Linked DNA regions of Homo sapiens: all the other regions are linked to region 7. The links are contacts of gene promoters, found by promoter capture Hi-C in blood cells and fetal thymus (Javierre and others, 2016). All regions are on one chromosome and are shown on one strand. The core of a region is centred on a gene start or on the middle of the fragment in contact, and the rest is flanking DNA. Distances in the headings are between cores, read along the strand shown.

Region 1 (3,171 bases), core at 8-2,507, 1.3 Mb before region 7:
TCCTTGCATTCTTTCTGTATTCCTTATGTTTCCACTAGGCAGAGGGATGTCTCCAAGATCAGAGCAAAGAAAAACTCTGCCAAAGAGAAAAGCACGTTAATGCTTTCTGCAAGGCTCTTGGATTGGTCGGAACCCTGAGAGCGCGCCAACAAGCAAAACAAGGCGGTGTGGAGCAACACACTGTTTCAGTGAGCGCCTGGGTGCAGATGGGCTGAGGCCTAAAATGGCGTCAGCCCCAAATGAGCACGGGGCAGGAATTTTATAGTCTCCTGTAAACAGGAAGTGTCTCAGTCTGATGTAACTGCTACGCGGTAGACAGACGGCCTCTCTCTGGGTCTTCAAGGGGTGCATGTCTTCCCGCCAGCTCTCCTCCTGCTTCTGCTGTCTTGCTGACGCACGCTGCGCCTTGGGACTGGGCCTGAGAAGAGAGGAGGAGTTATTCACATACCACCAACGGACCCACCCCCCCCGCACCCCTTCCCCCGGCCCCCCCGACTCCCCCCTCCCCCTGCCTCTCCCTCCCCCCTTTCCCCTGCCCCCCCTGCCTCCCCCTCCTCCCTTCCCCTGCCTCCCCCTGTCTCCCCCTCCCCCCTTTCCCCTGCTTCCCCCTGCCTCCCCTCCCCCCTTTCCCCTGCCTCCCCCTGCCTCCCCCTCCCCCCCTTTCTCCTGCCTCCCCCTGCCTCCCCCCCGCCTCCCCCCGCCTCCTCCCCCCCGCCTCCCCCCGCCTCCTCCCCCCCCCGCCTGCCCCCCGCCTCTTCCCCCCCCGCCTCCTCCCCCCCCACCTCCTCCCCCACTGCTGCCTCCCCCACTGCCTCCCCCGTCCCCCTCCCGCCCCCACCACCGGCACCAGCTTCCAAGCTCTGGGTAAAGTCTTTCACTTTCTAAACTGCTGCCCTTCTAGTGCTGATGCTGGACTGAAGCTTCCTGCAGGCTGGGATCCTGTCTGCATATCTCGCAATGTGTTCCCAGGACCAGGCGTAGTTTCTGGTAAAAACTCAAGGAATATTTGTTGAATGAGTTAATGAATGAATAATGATGATAATTCATACCAGAGTTGCCTATAAATAAGCGTACGGTGAACCCCGTGAACAAGTCATTTTCACTTGGAAATTGGACGTCAATATAATATTTTATACTGCTCACTGTAAATATTCCTTACTGAGGTAAAATGCCATCAGATTACCAGTAAGAGAATGTAGTTAATGTTCCTATATTTTGCTTTTTTGGGTCAATCATTTGGTAACAGCAATTAGAAAAGAAATTGGAGAGTACAGGGCCTGTCTGTGGAAGTTCTTCAGAACCTCAGTGCCATTGTCAAGAGAAAATGACCTGAGTTTTTCGCACTTTAGAGGGGGTGTTAACAATGAGTGCTTTCCCGATTCGATGCCATCACCAGCCATATTTGTGTTGAATCAGGTGCCTTATGGTAAAATATGTCATAAGTATACAAATATTTTTCCAAAAAAGTCTGTACTATGCGCTATTTCTTTTTGTGTTTCACTCACAACTATGTCTTCTTTTCTATCATCACACTTGGCTAATGATTGTTAGTAGATATTAGTCACCATAACTCTCCAGCACAGGAGAAGCTTAAAGAGAAAACTTCCTGGCGCACGCCTGTAATCTCAGCACTTTGGGAGGCCGAGAGGGCACATCACCTGAGGTCGGCAGTTCGAGACCAGCCTGACCAACATGGAGAAACCTAGTCTCTACTGAAAATACAAAATTAGCCAGCCGTGGGGGCGCATGCCTGTAATCCCAGCTACTCGGGAGGCTGAGGCAGGAGAATCGCTTGAACCTGGGAGGTGGAGGCTGCAGTGAGCCAAGATCGCACCATTGCACTCCAGCCTGGGCAATAAGAGCAAGACTCCGTCTCAAAAAACAACAAACAAAAAAACAAAAAGAGACAAGTTCCATGGGAGGTGGCACGCATTGGATGAAAGTGTAGTTATATAAAGAAATATGACTTAAAAGAAAGTAATCCAATGCTGGAAGCAAGGAGAAAATAATAAAGGATAAAAAGATAAATGGGAAATCTGAGCTAATGGTATTGGTTAGGCTAAGAAGGCATCTGCATGTTTTCACCTTGATGGTGTCAGTTGTGGAGTGCCTGGTAGAAGTGTTGTGAGCTGCCAGAAAGGCTGTGCACTATACTCTTCAGAAAAATCTATCAGTAGGGATGAGTTCAGTCTGTCGTGGGCATGTGGTTTAACACAATTTAGGACAATTTAGTTCCAGGACCTTACCTCTCCCTTAAATGATCATATGTTATAGACTGCCTCTTGGCCCATTTGCAAAAGAGGTATTTTACGTTAGCTCATTTGCAAAAGAGGTATTTGTCAATCCTCATGGAGTTTTATAGTCGTGTACCTTGACGAAGGAAAATATTAAGAACCATAGGCCAATGGCGATTTAGTGCCAGAAACCAGAAATCTCCATCAGCTAGTCACTTTTGATGATTTACACAGATTTTACACATGTTGGATTAAGTGCCTTCTGAATTATGTCTCACTGTTTATAAAACAGTAATTGCTTTTAAGTTTAGCAGCAGCAGATTTTTGGATCATAAGGATATTGAGTGAAAAGCTCTCATACCTTATTTATTAAATGCTGTATCCACATTTTTTTTCTCCCATCAGAAGCTAAATACAAGTGGTTTCTAAGACGTGTATTTTGACATACTTTATCATTTGGATATAAAATGAATGTCCAAGCGTTTCTGATTGAATGGAAGTCCCTTTCAATTATATAAAAAAGTAAAGACTAGAAATAGTATCATCTTCTCCCATGCATATGGGATTTTATTATATATATAGTTGATTTATTTTAGAGGTATGGTTTAACCCGTGGTATTTGTACATTGATATATTATGGATCAAGTTGTAACAGAGTAATACCTTAAACCCCTCCACCATTCTACAGAGTTTTATTTTATTTTATTTTATTTTATTTTATTTTATTTATTTTTTTTGAGACGGAGTCTCGCTCTGTCGCCCAGGCTGGAGTGCAGTGGCCTAATCTCGGCTCACTGCAAGCTCCGCCTCCTGGGTTAACACCATTCTCCTGCCTCAGATTTTATTTTATTTTTGAGATGGAGTCTTGCCCTGTCACCCAGGCTGGAGTGCAGTGGTGTGATCACGGCTCACTACAGCTTCCTCCTCCCCAGCTCAA
Region 2 (2,802 bases), core at 135-2,634, 1.3 Mb before region 7:
TCATATATATGTTTGGAGAGAATTTCCACTTAGATTAGCACGTAAGTTTTTGGAAGGATAACCAGGTAGAAGAAAATCTTCCCATTAGTCATTGATTCTAGGAGGAGTTCTGGAGCACAGGGATGATTAACTCCACAATGGGGTACACAAAATCAATGAAATAAGTTAACACTAGAACCAGCTGTATAAGCAGACAGTGTCCTCCTGGGAGGGGAGATGAATTGGGACTCATCAAATCCAACTTGCTGGGAAACTGATGGAGGACTTGAGGCAGGAATTCCCACCATGAGCCAGGAGCATCAAATCCAACCTGCCAGGAAGCTGATGGAAGACTTGAGGCAGGAATTCCCACCATGAGCCAGGAGCATCAAATCCAACCTGCCAGGAAGCTGATGGAAGACTTGAGGCAGGAATTCCCACCATGAGCCAGGAGCATCAAATCCAACCTGCCAGGAAGCTGATGGAAGACTTGAGGCAGGAATTCCCACCATGAGCCGGGAGCATCAAATCCAACCTGCCAGGAAACCGATGGAGGACTTGAGGCAGGAATTCCCACCATGAGCCAGGAGCATCAAATCCAACCTGCCAGGAAACCGATGGAGGACTTGAGGCAGGAATTCCCACCATGAGCCGGGAGCATCAAATCCAAGTTGCGGGAAACTGATGGAGGACTTGAGGCAGTGAGCCACCGTGAGCTGGGAGCTCCCAGTAGTCCTGCACTGACTTGGCTGAATTATTTTCCCTCCCAGCTAAGAGAGGAAAGGTGAAGAACGATGAATTGGAGACGTTAATGCTCTAGGCCTCTTATGACCATGTAATACCTATGCCTGCCAGAAAAGCTGTCATCTGAGCATCCTTTCAATGTTTGTCTGACTGTTCCAGGAGCAGAAGCTTAGGCATGAAGGGAGAAACTTCTGGAAGTTGGTATTAATTTTTAAATAAAGGAATTTATTGAATTAATTGGTATTAATGCAGCTGCTGAGGTTACTATGGTGACTGTGCTCCAGCCGGAGCCTTGGCTCACAGGGAACAGCTGGAGCTGACCTACCCAGCTGAGCTCACCAGGTCATGGAGAGCCCATCTCATGGGTTACCTGATCAGAGAGGGGAGGATGTCTGCAGGCTTTGTGGGGACTTGAGTGGGGTTTATTGGCCAGTCGGCCAATCAAAGGGGTCTCAAGGTCTTCACTTGGGAGAGCTGAGTCTGGTAATGGGGATAAGTGGCCTGGGGCTCTAGCCTCAGAGGTTGGCTGGGCATTGGGAATAGCACCTTGTTAGCTGGTAGGCCCCAGTGGAGAGAGTCCAGCCCAAAGCGTCCTGCAGGAGGCCCAGCAGTAGGTCTGTATAAAGTCCACGGTGCTCTTTAGGTCTCACCTCTGAAGCTGACTGCCCTTCAAGGATTATAACTCACTGGAGGTCAAGACATTTTCTGGAATAGCTTTCTGACTCCCTGTTTCCCCTGGGAATCAAAGGCTGAGAGACATCCAGCTTCAGCCTTGTGTAATTTTGAAGTTCACATTTTTTTTTTCCATAATAGTTATCTCTGGGACCTTGAAGTTATGGTAGGATTTACTCTCTTTCTGTCTTTGCTTTCCTAGGTACAGGAAGAGGGCTGATGAGTCAAACATCCCTGCAGGTGAGAACTGTTCTTTGATCCTTGAAACCCAATGTAGATTTTGCTGCTTTGTTTTTGCGGTTCAAACGAAGTGAATTAAAAAAATTTCAGACATACAGTCATTTCTTACTTACCTAATAGATATATTTGAATATGGTTCTATCAACTAGGATTAAGTTTGTTGCAATAAAAGACAAGCCCAAAATTGAGGTGCTTAAGCAGCATGGAAATTTATTTTGTTCTCACTCATAGAAACAAGCTTGGAGTAGGCTGACCCTGGCTGGTGGGGCAGTCCCATGGCTGGCAGAGGCCCCAACTCCTTCCAGCTCTCTCATGTCCTTAAGGGAACTGCACCCTCAGGTCAGGTTGTGGGTCTTGGAACTTGGGCATCAGGAGAGAGCAAGCGGGTGAGGAAGGGCAGGCTTCCTTCCTTTAAGGAAATTCCAGTCCCTCTGTCCTTGGCCAGTGATCAGGTACACAGCCCTAGCCAGCTGCAAGGGAGGAGATCCGTGCTGGCCTTTCCCCAGCCACGTGCCCTCTAAGTAGGATTCCGTTAGCGAGGAGGGGGAGAGAAGGCGTGTTGGGATAGGCAACTAGCAATCTCTGCCACAGCACATGTTACATGTCAGATCACGTTTTCAGTATGCCAAGGGAGCTGCTGCTGTCTGTGAGGCAGTCGTGATGTGGCAGGTAGAAACCAGAGCTAGGGGAGGATGAGGCCTCAGACTTGGGCCAGAGTTGCCTTCAGCTGCCTGAGGCCCCAGCATGAGACCCCTCATACTCTTGGCTCCTGTTTCCTCACCTACAAAATGAGGAAGTAAATGACAGCCTCCAAGGTTTCTTTTCATTCTTCCAATGCTATTTTAAAGATCTCTAGCGCACGATTTTCTGTGAAGCCAGAAATTAATTTCTTCCTTTATTTAAAAATTATCTTATTTTAAATTCTCTATTTAAAACTTGCACTCAGATGTGTACATATGTTTAGGCTAAGGAATGGTATCTTTTTTTTTTCAGTAGATAAAACGTCCTTTTTTTTTTTTTTTTTTGAGACAGAGTCTTGCTCTGTTGCCCAGGCTGGAGTGCAGTGGCGCGATCTCGGCTCCTTGCAACCTCCGTCTCCTGGGTTCAAGCAATTCTTTTGCCTCAGCCTCCTGAAGTAGCTGAAATTACAGGCATGTGCCACCATGC
Region 3 (2,857 bases), core at 333-2,832, 1.6 Mb before region 7:
GGGAGGCCAAGGTGGGTGGATCACCTGAGGTCAGGAGTTTGAGACCAGCCTGGCCAACATGGTAAAACCCCATCTCTACTAAAAATACAAAAATTAGCCAGGTGTGGTGATGAGCGGCTGTAGTCCCAGTTATTTGGGAGGCTGAGGCAGGAGAATAGCTTGAACCTGGGAGACAGAGGTTGCAGTAAGTCGAGATTGCACCACTGCACTCCCACCTGGGCAACAGAGCAAGACTCCGTCTCAAAAAAAAAAAAAAGAAAGCAGCTCTCTTTTGCTTTCATTGTTCACCGCAGGCCCTGGAAATTTAGCATTCTGGGCTAGATGACAAAGTAGTTTAGTTTGTTGACATACGTTAATTCATTCATTCATTTACTTAAGAGAAGGGTCTGGCTCTGTCACCCAGGCTGGAGTGCAGTGGAGTGATCGTTGCTTGCTTCAAACTCCTAGGCTCAAGCGATCCTCTCACTTCAACTTCCCAAGTAGCTGGGCCTACAGCTGCACACTGCCACGTCCCGCTACTTTTTCATGTCTGGCTGTTGCCCAGGCTGGTGTCGAACTCCTGGACTCAAGCGATCCTCTCACCTCAGCCTCCCAAAGCACTGGGATTACAGGCGTAAGCCACCGCGCCCAGCCGACACTGGTTTTAAGTAAAAGAATGAAAACTATTGCTTCAAGCAGTGTTCCCGGATGTCTATCTCTGCCCCAGTTTACCCTGACATTGGTGTCCACGCCGGCAGACGCCAGTCTGTGGATCCTCCCAGCCGTCCCATGCTGGAAGTCCAGGCTGTACACGGGCTCCTTGTTGTGCCAGGCTATTTCACAAGTGATGACTTTCATCCTCCTGAGTCTCGAAGGGGAAAAACGTTTCTCGGGCACCGTTCTACTTCTTCAAGACAGGAGAAAGCTGCAAAATGCTGGTGATGGATTAAACAACAGTGTTAACAGCAGCAAAGGGTTATTGAGCGCTGAATAGGGGCCAGGAGCCATTTAAAATGCACACTGCATTGGGAAAGGATGTTAACGTTGCCATCTGACAATAACACCTTGCTAGCTCCACCTAAAATGCTTCGCTGGGTCCTGACATCCACAAGTTTATGATACGCCGCTACATCCAGAAAAGCAAAACGAAACACCCAGGTAAAGGCTACCTAGGGGCCCCGGCCGTCTGCACGGCCTGTCCCCGCTTAGTAGGGGCTAGGGGCGCGCCCTGAGAGCCCGGGGAGGGGCCCGCCCCGGGAGGAGCCTCCCGGAAGAGGGGGCCAAACGGGGTAGGGGACCGGGGCGGCGGGGCGAGAGGAGAACCCCGCCTTTCCCAGGGACCGGGCGCTGGGCCCGGGAAGCTGGGACTGAGGCCGCCGGGAGGAGGCCGCGCGGGGCCGGGGGTGGACGGGGCCCCGCCGCCCCAACGCGCGCCGCTCCGGAGCTATCCCGGGGCCCAGGGGCCCGCCCTCGGCGAGGGCCTCTGGCCCGGACCGACGCGACCAAAAGAGCCGCGGAGCTGCCCGGGCCAGGGAAGCCGTACCTGGAGGGACCCGGACAGTCAGAGGCACCGTCACCTCCCGCGCAGCGCGCGCCGCTTCCCGCGCGCCGCAGGCCCCGCCCCCGCATGGGCGGGACCTCATAGACGCCCCGCCCCTCCAGCGGCCCTCAGGTCCCGCCCGACGTGGGCGGTACCCCAGGGAAGCCCCGCCCACTCATAGACGCCAAGGCGAGTCCTGCTCTGGCCCTGGGGTCGGAATCCCGGCCGGAATTTATGCCTGCCAGACCCACGACCGAAGGAAGAATGGATTCATTATTATTTATTATTATTATCCATTACTTATTCCTTGTTGATTCGCTCTTTTAGCAAAGGTTTACAGAGCCTGGGCTGTGTGTTAGACAGACCCTATGCTGGCGCTGGGCACTTGGAGGGCTAACACAACCGGTTCTCTTGCCCCTTCTGCAAACAAAAACTGAGATTTTTGGGTTTTCTGTATTGGCTTCTAGAACATTTTGGAGAGTTCAAAGCTATGAAATTGTTCAGTACCTAGCGCAAGGTTGCTTACATTTTATTATTATAGTAGATGCAGTTATAAACCCTTTTTAAGAACAGACTAACATTTTAAAGTGAGGCTGTAAATCAGTCGGTAGGCAGAGATAGATACCTCAGGCTTTTCGAAATGGGACGTTTCCAAATGAGACCTAATTTATCTGTGGGCTTCGCAGAAGGCCAGGAAACAAGTACCTCTGGATGCGCTGCTTTTACTGGATAAAAGAAACACACAGGGTTATCTGAGGAGCCAACTGCTCTAGGATTTTTGGAAAAAAAGAACAGACATGGATTCTTATATAAATACCGGCTGATGCTTTTAGCCAGCTTTATGAAAGGTACAGAAATTGCCTACAAATCCGTGTCTCATGTTGATGAGAATGGCTGTATGCTCCTTGAAGCCTGATTTCTACAGGAAGCTAGAATAACATAATCCGGATATGCAGTTTTTAGATTTTTCTCTTCAGGATTTACAGAGCTTGGACTGGGAATGACTATATACTTTAGATAATATGGCTGTTCTAAAAGTACAGATTCCTGGCCCTACTCAGCCCCATGATTCCGAATATCCAGCAGAGGCCCGTGCTCCAGGGGCTTGCATTTTCATAAACTCCCCGGTGGGTGTGATCATCAGTCTGTTTTGGAAAGCTCTGGATTCTTCGTGTCTCTCAAACATAAAATTTCTCCAAATTTCTCATAAATGCTGTTCATTCACAAATGAATAATCTGCCCACCTCTTGAAGTGTCACGACTCTGAACTGTGGATTTAAAAGATAAAAACACATGCTTTAAGTATTAAAAGTACATGAAGGAGTTGGCTTTCTTGGC
Region 4 (3,222 bases), core at 206-2,705, 1.1 Mb before region 7:
GTGATGCACATTGCCTAGATCCATTCTTTCACTGCAGGGTGCAGACTGTTGATTTCTGATTCTGTCACTCTGCTTTGATTTATTAGCTGTAATGATTTTATTAGAAAATTCTTTCTTTCATCTACTAGTTGGTTATTTACTGGCTTAGTTCATAAGGAATCTAAAATAAATGTTTTACGTTTTCCTTGTATTTACTAAGTTTTCAAGATAATGCTGTTGACTTTCAAAAGTTTATCAAGTAGGTTTGAAAAAATACCTTTATGAACTCATGGGTTTAAACTTATTTGATCAGTTTTAATCCATTGCAATTCTCATCTTTATGAGAGTTCAAATTGCCCCATCCTTGACCAGAGGGAGATCTTCAGGTTGAGCTACTTTGACCAGTGGCTGTTGAGTCTTTTTTTTTTTTTTTTTTTTTTTTGTTTGTTTGAGACAGGGGGTCTTGTTCTCTCACCCTGGCTGGAGTGCAGTGACGTGATTTTGGCTCACTGTAGCCTTGACCTCCTGGGCTCAAGCAATCCTCCTGCCTCAGCCTCCTGAGTAGGTGGGACTACAGTTGTGCGCCACCATGCCTGGTTAATTTTTTATTTTTTGTAGATCCAGGGTTTTCCCTTGTTGCTTAGGCTCATCCCCAACTTCTGGGCTCAAGTGATCTTCCTGCCTCAGCCTCCCAAAATGCTGGGATTATAGGCATGAGCCTAATTAATATGGGATATTAATTATCAATCTAGAAAGACATAAATGTATTGCTTGGAAAGAAGAAAGGATCCATTGACAAAGAAGAGATACAAAGATTTGATCTTGATTTATCTCAGGTAGATGTCAACTTCTGCCATATTTTCTTGATCATTAACTGAGACCTCATCCCTCTTCTTCCCCTACTTTTTTCCTTTAAAGCCAAATAAAAATAAACAGAACTAGTATTATTTTGCATTGAGTATCCCAAGTAGATTTAGAATGTTGGTTTCAAAGTAAATAAACAAGAGACGGATGCAATGGAATTTCATAACCATGATGGACTTTGGGGTGTAATAATTTTCTTAGGCAAGCTTATAAAAACAGTGTTTTCTCCCTGTAGTCTGTCCTTAGGGACTAATGTTCTAAAAAGAGAGAACAATTTTCCAGTAAAATTAACTCTGTGAAGATTTTATGGATTTTAAAGACATACCACTTTGTGTGTGTGTGTGCAAGGCTCTTATAGACAGGCTGCTGTGTAGCAGTGGGGACCTCCATGGTGAGTTATGTTCTTGTCCTTATGTCATGGGAGCAGGTAGACATAAATACTTTCATGCATGGAGCTTCTGGATCCTTTGTCTAAAATTCTGCCATCTTTTCTAATAGATTGCAAGTTCTCTTTAAAAGTGGAAACACCCCTTAAAGATATGAAGCAAATCTTCATCATTTGGAAGGCAGTATATAACTCACAAATGGGTTGTCTTCAAAGGTTGTTTATAAGGCACTGGCTTGAAACTGCATTTATCTATGGACCTATGATAGGTTCTTAAGGCAGCAGATTAACACTTACCAAGCCCACCATATTCATTTTGGTAGCACTGAAGCAATACTATAGACCCTAGCACCAGGCGTGACTGTGTTCTGGAGCAGTGGTTCTCAACCAGGCCATTGAAGGCAATTTCTTAAAAGCCCTGCCGGCCTGGGTACCTCACACCACTCCTGCACTAACCTACTTAGAGTGTGGCTCTTTGCAGCTTACTCCTGTGCTCAAGGTCATGAATGCTCCTTACTCTCAAACAGAGGCCCACTCTTCAGGTAGTGTTCAAGGCCATCAGCCACATGCTTCGTCGTTCCTGTGCCACCATGTGCTATTTCCCCATATGAACACATGCCATGTTAAGCTTTAGTTGAACATGCCCTACCCTCCTCGGTTTCTCACCTTGCTTGCTGTCCTTGGCACCAAGAATTTAGTTCCCATTTGTGGCTGCCTAATACATAACCTCTTCTTTGCTGGCTTATTTCATATGCCACCCCCTTTTCTGATTTTTCCCAACTAGAGCTCACTCTTTCCTTCTTGATATTTTCGCATCCCACTCTTACGTTATCTGTGTTATGGCACATAATACTGCCCTTACAGGGTAATGTTGGTGGGCTGTTGTCCAGCCCAGTGCATCCCTAGAGGGCAGGGTCTCTTGTTTTATCGACCTATGAGGATCAGTGCCTAGCAATGTGCTTGGGATATGGTGGCTGCATGACAAATTCTGGAGCTATTTCACTGCCTCTCTATTCCACAACCACTTGCATACATACTGAGAGCAGGAGGGCAGCATGTGTGGGTGCTGGTGGGAAGCCAGAGAGGGAAGCTATCTGTATTGCATTCAAACATTAATGTCCACAGAGAGCTCTAAGTGCTGTCTACCTTTGGCTTTGAGTCAGATGTAATAAAACAAAATCAGCCATTATGAGTAATGCTTTTCAACTTTTGTTGTAAGGCTCACAAAAGATGTTTGCTGTCCCTGACTGGTGTCAGATGCAATAAATATAATTAGTCTCTGGAAACACATAGATGAAATTACTTTAATCATGGCTTTCATTTGTTTCTAGCCCCTGAATCTCATGGGCATGGAGCAGACCACTGGCTTTTGCCTTCGGAGGCACCTCGAGCCCGTCTCCTGGGTTTGGCTTTAGGGATAGTGTCTCTTTCTGGGAATTTTAAACTTCAAAGTGGAAAACCCTGGGCTCTCCACATCCATCTCCTGGGGACTTACTGAAAGAAAGTTTATTTGCCCAGGAGAGGTGACCTTTCCTTTCATCTCTGACTATGTTTTCACATCTAATAAAGTCAAGATGGAACTTGGCACCTGTTTTCCTCAGGACAAATTCAATGAGGACACAGTCCTGGAAGTGAGTGGCACTGAGTTCTTTCCTTCATCTTCGTATCACCAAAGAACTGCTCTCCATAGAACACTATGGATCTGGAGCGACTATCAGGTACAAATCATCAACTTTAGGAGTTAGAGGCATCCTTAGAGTTCGTTCAGGCCAATAGCTCCATTTGATAGATAAGAAACCAAGGCTTGGTGAGCTGACATGTCTTGCTGGAAGCACATCGTGTCTGGGTGTCAGAGGCTGACTGAGAATCAGCTCTCTTCCAGGATTGTTTCCACCTCAGGTGGGACTCTATTATTTCACAGATTCCATGATGAAAAGGTTTGGCCAAGAAGAGCATGCATTTATTGCATTCATTTAACCAATATCTGTGGAAGG
Region 5 (2,872 bases), core at 21-2,520, 1.2 Mb before region 7:
CCTGAGATGGAGTCTTGCTATGTTGCCAGGCTGGAGTGCAGTGGCACAAATCTCAGTTCACTGCAACCTCTGCCTCCTGGATTCAAGGGATTCCCCTGCCTCAGCTTCCTGAGTGGCTGGGACTACAGGTGCATGCTACCATGCCCAGCGAATTTTTGTATTTTTAGTAGAGACAGGGTTTCACAATGTTGGCCAGGATGGTCTCTATCTCTTGACCTCGTGATCCACCCGCCTCGGCCTCCCATAGTGCTGGGATTACAGGTGTGAACCACCACACCCAGCTGAATGAATCTTTTATTGCAGCCAAAATTTCACCTCTTTAAATCCACCTCTGTGAAAGTATAATCCAACATATACATACAATTCCAAAGTTTTGTGGATGCTAATGGGCTTTATATTGAAAATGTTCATGTTAATATTTACTCAGAGGAATTATCCAACTGGCATGTTGTACTGGGAAAATAAGACTGAAACTGTCATACATATTATCCCATTGCCATACCAATCACGTCTTCCTACAATAACCAACAAGGATCAAAGGTAAACAGAAAAGTAGTGAGGAAATGAGAAGGAACGTAGCTTAAATCTCATGTAGCTCCCATTGCAGATAAGAACCCAGATGGTCTCTTTTCTGGGCAAGTATAATCCCAAAGGCAACCCCAGCCCCAAAAATACTTTGGGGAGAGAGGAACTGGTACAAGGGTAGACCTACACCTCTCTTTGGGCTTCTTAATGGTCAAAGCAAGTCAAGGACTTAATGGTCTCAAGGAGTGGACATATAAGCGCTTTGTTCCACTGTGTGGCCCAGAAATGAAAGCCATTAATAAGAAAAAAGCCTGTTGGTCATAGTGGCATTGTATAAACAGGACTGGATAATTTTCTTTTATGAATTCATTCCTATCTCTTCACATGGGCCTGAGAAGTGTGTCTGGAAGGCATTTTCCTTTTTGGTTGGAGGTGACTTAACAGACTGGCAATTACTGTCATTATGAGCCCAGTCACATAGCTGGAAGATCTAGGCGGCTGCTGATTCCTGAGCAGCAATGGGACAAGTGGGAGCAGCTGAGACCACACTGACAGGCCAGGGAACTGTAGACGAGTAATCTGCCAGGGGAAAAGGCCCCTTTGATCTTCACACCAGACGATAATTGCAGCAGATGTAGAGTCGATGTGGTATTTTTTTTTTTTATTGCAGTGGGACGGGCATTACCGATCTGTATGCGTAAGTGTTGCCAAGAGAAAGGAAGGATGATGGTTAGCTTACCTGCATCTTAAGCCATGCAGTGAAAAAGGTTCAGGGTTTTCTTAACCAGAAATGGTCTGAATGTTTAATAAAGGTAAACATTTATTATTTAGTGTTTTATATCATGTGGCAATTTTAGCTGATGTGGGATCTGACTCTTGCCAACCAATTTGAGTCTGTTAATGGCTGTTTGTTGTATTTTTTATTTTCTGTTTTCACAGAGACCATATTGCCCAGGCTGGAGTAGAGTGGTGCAATCATTGAATCACTGATCACTGTAGCCTCAGACTCCTGGGCTCAAGTGATCCTCCCACCTCAGCCTTCCCAGTAGCTAGGACTACAGGCAAGCACCACTATGCCCAGCTAATTAATTTTTTTTTTTTTTTTGTAGAGATGGGGTCTCACTATGCTGCCGAGGCTGGTCTCAAACTACTAGGCTCAAGCTATCCTCCTGCCTTAGATTCCCAAAATGCTGGGATTACAGGTGCGGACCACCTTGCCTGGCCTGTTTTCTTTTTGATACTTGGGGTGGACCAAAAAAAATCAATCATTTTCATTAAATTCAGTTGTGTGCTTGCCTTCAGATTTCCCTGGAAGCATCCACTGTCAGCCTCGAGGGAATTAATAGACCTACACCCTTGGGATAGATCAATGTGCCCTGAAAAATGTGTCTGGTTTGTTGTAATGCCACACTGGAAATAACAGAAAGGCTGTTTATATAGACAGTGGTCCAAGGAAGAAAGTGGGTCTGGATGAATGGCATCTGCTTATGTCCTGGTCTTGGTTACAAGACAGGCATCTCATCATTCCAGCCATTCTGCCTGCAGTCAGGATCTGTGGAGGACCCAGTGCCTTCAGAAAAGGTTAACAGAAGCTGCAAGAGGGCTCATCCATGAGTCTTCTCCGTTAAGCACATAATTCAGCTCATTAGACTTCAGGTTTCAGAATCGTGGTCTTTTTGTGATCTAAATAAGTTATGGTCTCTCTAATTGGACAGGATGTAGGGTGTTTTTGACAGCCACTGTTATTTTGCTCTTAAATACATACCAACAGGCTATTAATAAATAAATAAATTTAATATTAATTAATAATTAAAAATCATTAATAATTAATAAATAAATTATTTATTAATAATTAATAAATTATTAATAATTAATAAACAAATCACTTATTAATAAATTATTTATTATAATTAATAAACAAGTTATTTATTAATAGATTATTTATTATAATTAATAAATAGATTATTTATTATAATTAATAAATAGATTATTTATTATAATTAATAAATAGATTATTTATTATAATTAATAAATAGATTATTTATTAATAATAAATAATCTATTTATTATATATAAGAATGAATTAACAAAAATTCTCTGTGGCCATTGGTTTCCTGGTAGAACTCCCTCTTTTTCTTGTATCTACAGGAAATGTCTTTCTAGCTTGTGTGTATGTCTGCCAGGCTTGCCAGTTCGAAGTCGGCCATGGGAGGGGTTGTGTTCAGAAGCACACACCATGTGACCTGTCAGGCAGATCAAAGCAGGGATTTCAGGGCTGACTACAAGGGGAAATGGTTAGTAATTAATAAAAGGATGTGGAATTGGTCATGTTGACTGAAAGAGCCCA
Region 6 (3,189 bases), core at 295-2,794, 1.1 Mb before region 7:
TACCTCCTGGTGTCTCCTCCTGGTCATGAGAGTGACTGTGTGCAGCAATTCCCAGCTCTGCATTCAGTGACCACACACTGGGAGCTTGAAATTGGCCATAGGGGGAGTGTTTACACCATGGAAATTGGCAGCAACTGCACATCAGGTCTCCCACACCCTCTCCTGAGAGCCACTTATTAAACATCTACCCGGGACCCTAGGGGCCAACGGAACAGAATTGGAAAACTACTGGTATGGTGGCTTAGTGGACTGGGAAGTAGTTATTTTAGTTTGTTAAGGCTGCCTAAACAAAATACCAAAACCAGAGTGGCTAAACCACAGAAATGTATTAGCTCAGACTTCTGGAGGCCAGCAGTCTGAGATCAAGGTGTCTGCAGGACCAGGTCCCCTGTGAAGGTGCCAGGGGAAGATCCACTCCAGACCTCTCTTCTACCTGCTGGAATTCCTTGACTGTGGCAGTGTAACTCCAGTCTTCACAGGGTGTCCTCCCTGTGTGCATGTCTCTGTGTCCAAATTTCCCCTTTTGATAAAGACACCAGGCATATTGGATTAGAGCCCTTCCTGAGCACCTCCTTTTATTTATTTGTTATTTTTTTATTTCCATAGGTTTTTGGGGAAATGGTGGTATGTAGTTTCAAGAGTAAGTTCTTTGGGGGTGACTTGTGAGATTTTGGTGAGCCCATCACCTGAGCAGTATACACTGAACTAAATTTGTAGTCCTTTATCCCTCAACCCCCTCCCACCCTTTCCCCCAGGGGAATGGAAAACCAAACATCGCATGTTCTCATTCATAAGTGGGAACTAAGCTATGAGAATGCAAAGGCATGAGAATGATACGAAGGACCTCCTTTTCACTTGATGACCTCTGTAAAGATCCTACTAAGTAAGGCCATTTGGAGCTTCTGGGGGTAGGACTCCAACATATCTTATTCTGGAACATACAATTCAACCCATAACCATAGCCAAGCATGGATTTGTGTTCTGTTCTGTCTCTCATTGACCGCATGGCCTAATTTTGACACTTAGCTTCTGTTCTATAACTAAAAAATGATAGAATTGGATCATGCCATCTGTGAGATTTTCTCTCTCAAATCCTATGGCTTTCCAAACACATTTACTGTTCCTGGCCCCCCATTAGTAGGATCCAGCTCTAATTTGCTTTCATGCCCACTTTATGTATAAGGGGAGCTGTTGAAAGTTGGCTAGTTAATAGCAGTAGCTACTTTTTTTTTTTTTTTTTTAAGGCAACTACTATATGTCAGGCATTCTGTTAGAAGCTTGACATGTTTAATTTAACGCTGAAAAATAGTCCTGCAAAATATCCCATTAGATATATTCTGTGTGATAGCTGAGGCATCCAAGAAGCAGAGAGGTCACCTAATTTGTTAAAATTCATACTATGAGCAAATAGAAGAACTGGGATTTGAATTCATATCTTTACAATTCCAAAGCCGGTGCCCTTCACTTGTTCTTAGCCAAAAGCTGAGAAGTGATAGCTAGTCCTCTTTATACTCTTTATACTCTCCTACTCGAAGGCATTGAGTAGGATGTCAGGTCATAACTGGTAGATGACCATCTTCTTAGTGAAGGTGATTATTCACCAGACAGGTGGAACCCATGGGTCTAACCCCTTTGGCACTAGGTTATAATGATAGCTGCCAATCTCTGTTCTGCAGTCCCATTTATTCACCTGAAACCTTCATTTTTCAGCACCTTTAAGTCTCAGGTTAAGCTGGTGAAACCTGATTCTGAAGAGAGATCAGAGAAGAAGGAATCTCTGAGCTGCCCGTTGGAGGAACCCACAAGCTTTCAGTGTGTCTGCAATTTTTTTTTTTTTTTTTGAGACGGAGTCTTGCTCTGTTGCCCGGCTGGAGTACAGTGGCATGATCTTGGCTCACTGCAATCTCTGTCTCCCAGGTTCAAGTGATTCCCCTGCCTCAGCCTCCAAGTAGCTGGGATTACAGGCGTGTGCCACCACACTCAACTAATTTTTTGTGTTTTAGTAGAGACGAGGTTTCCCCATTTTGGCCAGGATGGTCTCGATTTCCTGACCTTGTGATCCACCCACATCAGCCTCCCAAAGTGTTGGGATGACAGGCGTGAGCCACCGTGCCACCAGGCCACAATTTTTACATCCTAGAAAAAGTTTGAAGTTGTAGACTGTGGTTAAGATCTTACAACTCATGGGGCTTAAAAGAGGTTCACACTAGTATTGATGACCTTATTTTTCTAGCTGCTTTGGGACATTGGCCCTCAGAAACCTTTCTCCTAAATGGTTCCAGGGCTTAGTTACCGTGTGGCAGCTGCCATTTTATTTCCTTGATGCCTGGGAAGGTGCCAGCAGAGACTCCTCCGTTGTCATCCAGGTCTACCTGAGACCATCTGCCACCCCTGGGGTGAGCGACACCTGCCCTCCAGGCCACTCTGCTGCTGCCCTGGGCGCCATCTCCTCTGCTTGTGCTGATGATACTTGGAGCCCTTAGGAGCCACAGCTGTGTAGTTTTTTGTGGAGCAAATTCCTCTTTTCACCTGGTGTGTACTTCATGAAAGGTCACTGAAGCAGAGCCACCCCTTCCTCAGTGCCTTGGATATTGTTAGTGAAAACAACCTCCCTTTTCAGTTGCGGTCTCTACATATTGCAGATTGGGCTGGGCCGGGCTCAGGAAACCAACCAAGCACCAACGTCTTCCCAGAGTCACTTCTTCACTGATGACAGTGGGTTGCTTCTTGGGCTATTATCTTCCAGGAAGTTCTGGTTGCTCATTAACATAGATCCTGGTGACACAGCACCTCTAATTATGATGAAAGCACCTCATACTTTAGTCACAATCCAAGGATAGCAAAAAAGATACCATTAATTGTTTTCCATGCAGAGGAAGAGGTGGGGCCACACCTGTTGGGAATGTTACTAGTGATCATATATTGCAATTGATGTTGTAGCTGATTACCAGACCCTCCTACCTCTATTGAATCATGCTTATCTTCTTGTGCAAAATACCATTACCTGTATATGTGGCAATGGAAAACTTTGGAGCAGGAGATATGAATAAGGAGCTGCTAATCAGATCAGCTAGGAGGAGAAATCCTGGATAAGAAGGCCCTGTTCCACTGTAAACAGAATCACCATTTACCTGGAACCTCTGTATATGTTTACTCAAGGCCTTAGCTCATAATTTGGGTCCCAGTTCC
Region 7 (2,831 bases), core at 286-2,785:
CCTCTGCCTCCTGGGTTCAAGGAATTATCCTGCCTCAGCCTCCCAAGTAGCTGGGATTACAGGTATCCACCACCATGCCCGGCAATTTTTTTTTTTTTTAAGTAGAGACAGAGTTTCACCATGTTGGCCAGGCTGGCCTTGAACTCCTGACCTCAGGTGATCCACTCGCCTCGGCCTCCCAAAGTGCTGGGATCACAGGCGTGAGCCACCGTGCCCGACCAAGGTTCATTTTCAATGCTGTTGACACGAAGGCTAAGATCACAGGGGAGGTCACAATTTTAGGATCTCAGCTTTTAGAATGCTGTCTTTTTAACCCCTTCAGCATTTCCATCTTATTGGAAAAGGGCAGGCAGGAGGGCAGATGGGAGGGAGGGAGGCAGTTGGGCTTTCTTCCTGTCCAGGGGCCAGCTCTGCCTTCCTGGTCCTCACTCCCAGCCCCACTCCTTCCTTCCCCTGTTCTGTGCCTCTCCTATCTACTCCTTCCACATCCCTAGCCACCTCACAGGCTCTTCATGGGGCTCAAGTGAGATAATGCAGGGTGTGAAATTCTTTGTCAATGAACGCATCAACTCTACGTTCCATTTGCTGTCATTATCTCCTGTATCTTTGTTCCACTTGTGCAGGTGATTTGTCCCCCCGCCAGTCCCCGTCCCCTCACCCCCAGTTTCATGGATAAGGACCAGCTGTAGACTCTGCCAGGCCCTGGGCAGTGTTGGTATCGTGCTTGGAGGTGCTGCTCAGTTATGCAACCCACCCTCCTCCCCCAGCCAGAGCCACAAAGCCACTAGGGCACTGTACCAGTTTGTTTATTTATTTATTTTTGAGATGGAGTCTCCCTCTGTCACCCAGGCTGGAGTACAGTGGCACGACCTTGGCTCACCACAACATCCGCCTCCCAGGTTCAAGCGATTCTCCTGCCTCAGCCTCCCGAGTAGCTGGGATTACAGGCGCATGATGTCACGCCTGGCTAATTTTTGTATTTTCAGTAGAGTCGGGGTTTTACCATGTTGGTCAGGCTGGTCTCAAACTCCTGACCTCAGGTGATCCACCTGCCTTGGCCTCCCAAAGTGCTGGGATTACAGGTGTGAGCCTCTGCTCCCAGCCCCACCGTGTTTAGCTTGGTTAGGCACAGAGCCTTGCATGAACCAGCACCTCGGGGACCCCATGACGAGGTCAGAGCGGGTGAGAGGCACGCACCAGTGTGACTGAGCCACTCGCTGGGACTCTGGGGGCAGCGTGGTGGGGCTTGAGATCAAGGAAGTGCCTGCAAGTGGATTCAACGATGAGACACTTCCCCGGCCCACAGGGTGGAGGGGTTGGCTGGAGGGGTTGCCTGTACTTACCAGAGACGGTCCCCGAGCGAGCTTGATAAGCTGAAAGAGACGCTCAGGAGAGCCCTGACAGAGCTCCCCAGGCTGGAAAGGACAGAACTCCCCACCGGAACTTTCATTTTCAAAGTTCAGCACCTCAGTTAAGTAATTAATAGGTCTGGTCACGTTCACAGCTCTCCAAAAGAGACTGATGGAGCTCTGCTTTTCCTCCGGAAGTGCTTTCATGGCAAGCCCAGAGAAGCCCCCTAGGAGGCAGCCTGTCATCCAATAATCACTTCCTCTCTCAGGCCCAAATTCCAAATCAGCTCAGCAATGGGCAGGGCGGCCCTGAGCCACGTCCAGAGGTTGGGATTTGCTGACTCCTGGAGGATATTCTGAGTATAGCAAGTAAGTGAACTCGCACAAACAATGCGTTCAGCAATGGGAAGAAAACAGCTGTTTTTGTCCGAGAAGTGTCTGGCATACCCAAGACTTCTTAAAGAGAGGAAAATATTAACCTAGAGCATAACAACCCCTTTCTCTTTTCAGTCAAAACCTAGACAGACTGTGTTGATATTAAGTTAACAAGTTCCATGGGCTAATACCTTCCGAATGAAATGAGAGGGTTCTTAAATTAATAGATGAAAACTCCCCTTCATACATCAGAGAACTAAGGAAAGGTAATTGCCCCCAATATTTATTTTCGATTTGGAAAATCCAAAGCAAGAAGGCTTTGAAGAAGTCAAGATCTGATTATAATTCTAGGCTCGGTGCCAATGGGATAAATTATCTGGCAACTTTTTTTGCACAGTTATTGATTCTATTTGTCTCTGACGCCAAGCGCCCAGCATGGCACAAAGCCTCACAAAGTGCTCCGAAAAGGGTGTCATCCCCACACCGTTGATAAGGCTCAGAGTCTCTCCACGGCCATAATGCAACCCCCTCCTCCCCAGGGGGCTGTTGGCACCTCAACCCACTAAGGGATCAGGAAGTAGAGTTTGCCAGTGAGGAGCCTGGAGACTTCAAGCCTGTTTGGCCTTGGTGTTCTTGTGATTTAGTGCCCTGGACTGGCAGGTCTAGGGACTTTTTGCTCTAGACAAACTTTTTAAATAGGCCAGGTGCAGTGGCTCAAACCTGTAATCCCAGTGCTCTGGGAGGCTGAGGTGGGAGGGTTGCTTGATCCCAGGAGTTTGAGGCTGCAGTCAGCCATAATCACACCACTGCAGCCCAGCCTGGGAGACAGAAGAAGACCTTGTTTCAAAAAAAATTTTTTTAATAAATATAAATTTAAAAAATAAAAAATCCCAACACATGCACACACATACATGCACACACATACATGCACACACACACATGCACACACATACATATATATGCATGTGCAAAAGGTATGCCCAAGCTATACTCTCTTTATTTGAGTTTTAATTTACAGAAGTTTTCAACCTGGCCAGGCCTGGAATCATGGAGAATGGGCTGGGAATGGGTCTGCAGAGGTTCCCAAGGACATGTTTGAAAAGCATC

What was found. The method cuts DNA at HindIII sites, captures the fragments that hold promoters and counts their contacts. A CHiCAGO score of 5 or more calls a contact.
Region 1: a contact is called between a fragment that was not itself captured here and the fragment with the promoter of LINC01426 in region 7, in 5 of 17 cell types (neutrophils, total B cells, monocytes and 2 more). The highest score is 9.9, in neutrophils.
Region 2: a contact is called between a fragment that was not itself captured here and the fragment with the promoter of LINC01426 in region 7, in 2 of 17 cell types (neutrophils and total B cells). The highest score is 5.8, in neutrophils.
Region 3: the fragment with the promoter of CHAF1B here is called in contact with the fragment with the promoter of LINC01426 in region 7 in 1 of 17 cell types (neutrophils); the score reaches 8.4 in neutrophils.
Region 4: a fragment that was not itself captured here is called in contact with the fragment with the promoter of LINC01426 in region 7 in 9 of 17 cell types (naive B cells, monocytes, naive CD4 T cells and 6 more); the score reaches 9.2 in naive B cells.
Region 5: a contact is called between a fragment that was not itself captured here and the fragment with the promoter of LINC01426 in region 7, in 2 of 17 cell types (neutrophils and monocytes). The highest score is 6.3, in neutrophils.
Region 6: a fragment that was not itself captured here is called in contact with the fragment with the promoter of LINC01426 in region 7 in 1 of 17 cell types (total B cells); the score reaches 5.2 in total B cells.

Annotation. Positions count from the first base shown.
Region 1 is chr21:36,002,380-36,005,550 of GRCh38, reverse strand. LINC01436 (long intergenic non-protein coding RNA 1436) reads right to left here and starts at 231. Exons shown (of 2, transcript NR_110419.1): 1 at 1-231. It overlaps LOC101928269 (a long non-coding RNA gene), which reads left to right and starts at 884. Exons shown (of 6, transcript NR_110418.1): 1 at 884-987. The HindIII fragment of the contact is 669 bases long and covers 923-1,591 here.
Region 2 is chr21:36,052,416-36,055,217 of GRCh38, reverse strand. It overlaps SETD4 (SET domain containing 4), which reads left to right. Exons shown (of 12, transcript NM_017438.5): 4 at 1,598-1,635. Among named protein-coding and RNA genes, the nearest start is that of SETD4, 6.7 kb to the left of the region's middle. The HindIII fragment of the contact is 982 bases long and covers 894-1,875 here.
Region 3 is chr21:36,384,117-36,386,973 of GRCh38, reverse strand. It overlaps CHAF1B (chromatin assembly factor 1 subunit B), which reads right to left and starts at 1,582. Exons shown (of 14, transcript NM_005441.3): 1 at 1,523-1,582; 2 at 712-914. The coding sequence starts at 837. RefSeq lists enhancers at 130-629, 630-1,131 and silencers at 1,251-1,350, 1,381-1,750. The HindIII fragment of the contact is 16,320 bases long and covers 1-2,857 here.
Region 4 is chr21:35,861,007-35,864,228 of GRCh38, reverse strand. No RefSeq gene overlaps it. Among named protein-coding and RNA genes, the nearest start is that of MIR802, 140 kb to the right of the region's middle. The HindIII fragment of the contact is 807 bases long and covers 1,052-1,858 here.
Region 5 is chr21:35,925,702-35,928,573 of GRCh38, reverse strand. No RefSeq gene overlaps it. Among named protein-coding and RNA genes, the nearest start is that of LINC01436, 78 kb to the left of the region's middle. The HindIII fragment of the contact is 3,480 bases long and covers 1-2,872 here.
Region 6 is chr21:35,892,954-35,896,142 of GRCh38, reverse strand. No RefSeq gene overlaps it. Among named protein-coding and RNA genes, the nearest start is that of LINC01436, 110 kb to the left of the region's middle. The HindIII fragment of the contact is 529 bases long and covers 1,280-1,808 here.
Region 7 is chr21:34,744,529-34,747,359 of GRCh38, reverse strand. LINC01426 (long intergenic non-protein coding RNA 1426) reads right to left here and starts at 1,535. Exons shown (of 3, transcript NR_038885.1): 1 at 1,344-1,535. RefSeq lists enhancers at 154-448, 655-1,154, 1,155-1,656. The HindIII fragment of the contact is 11,220 bases long and covers 1-2,831 here.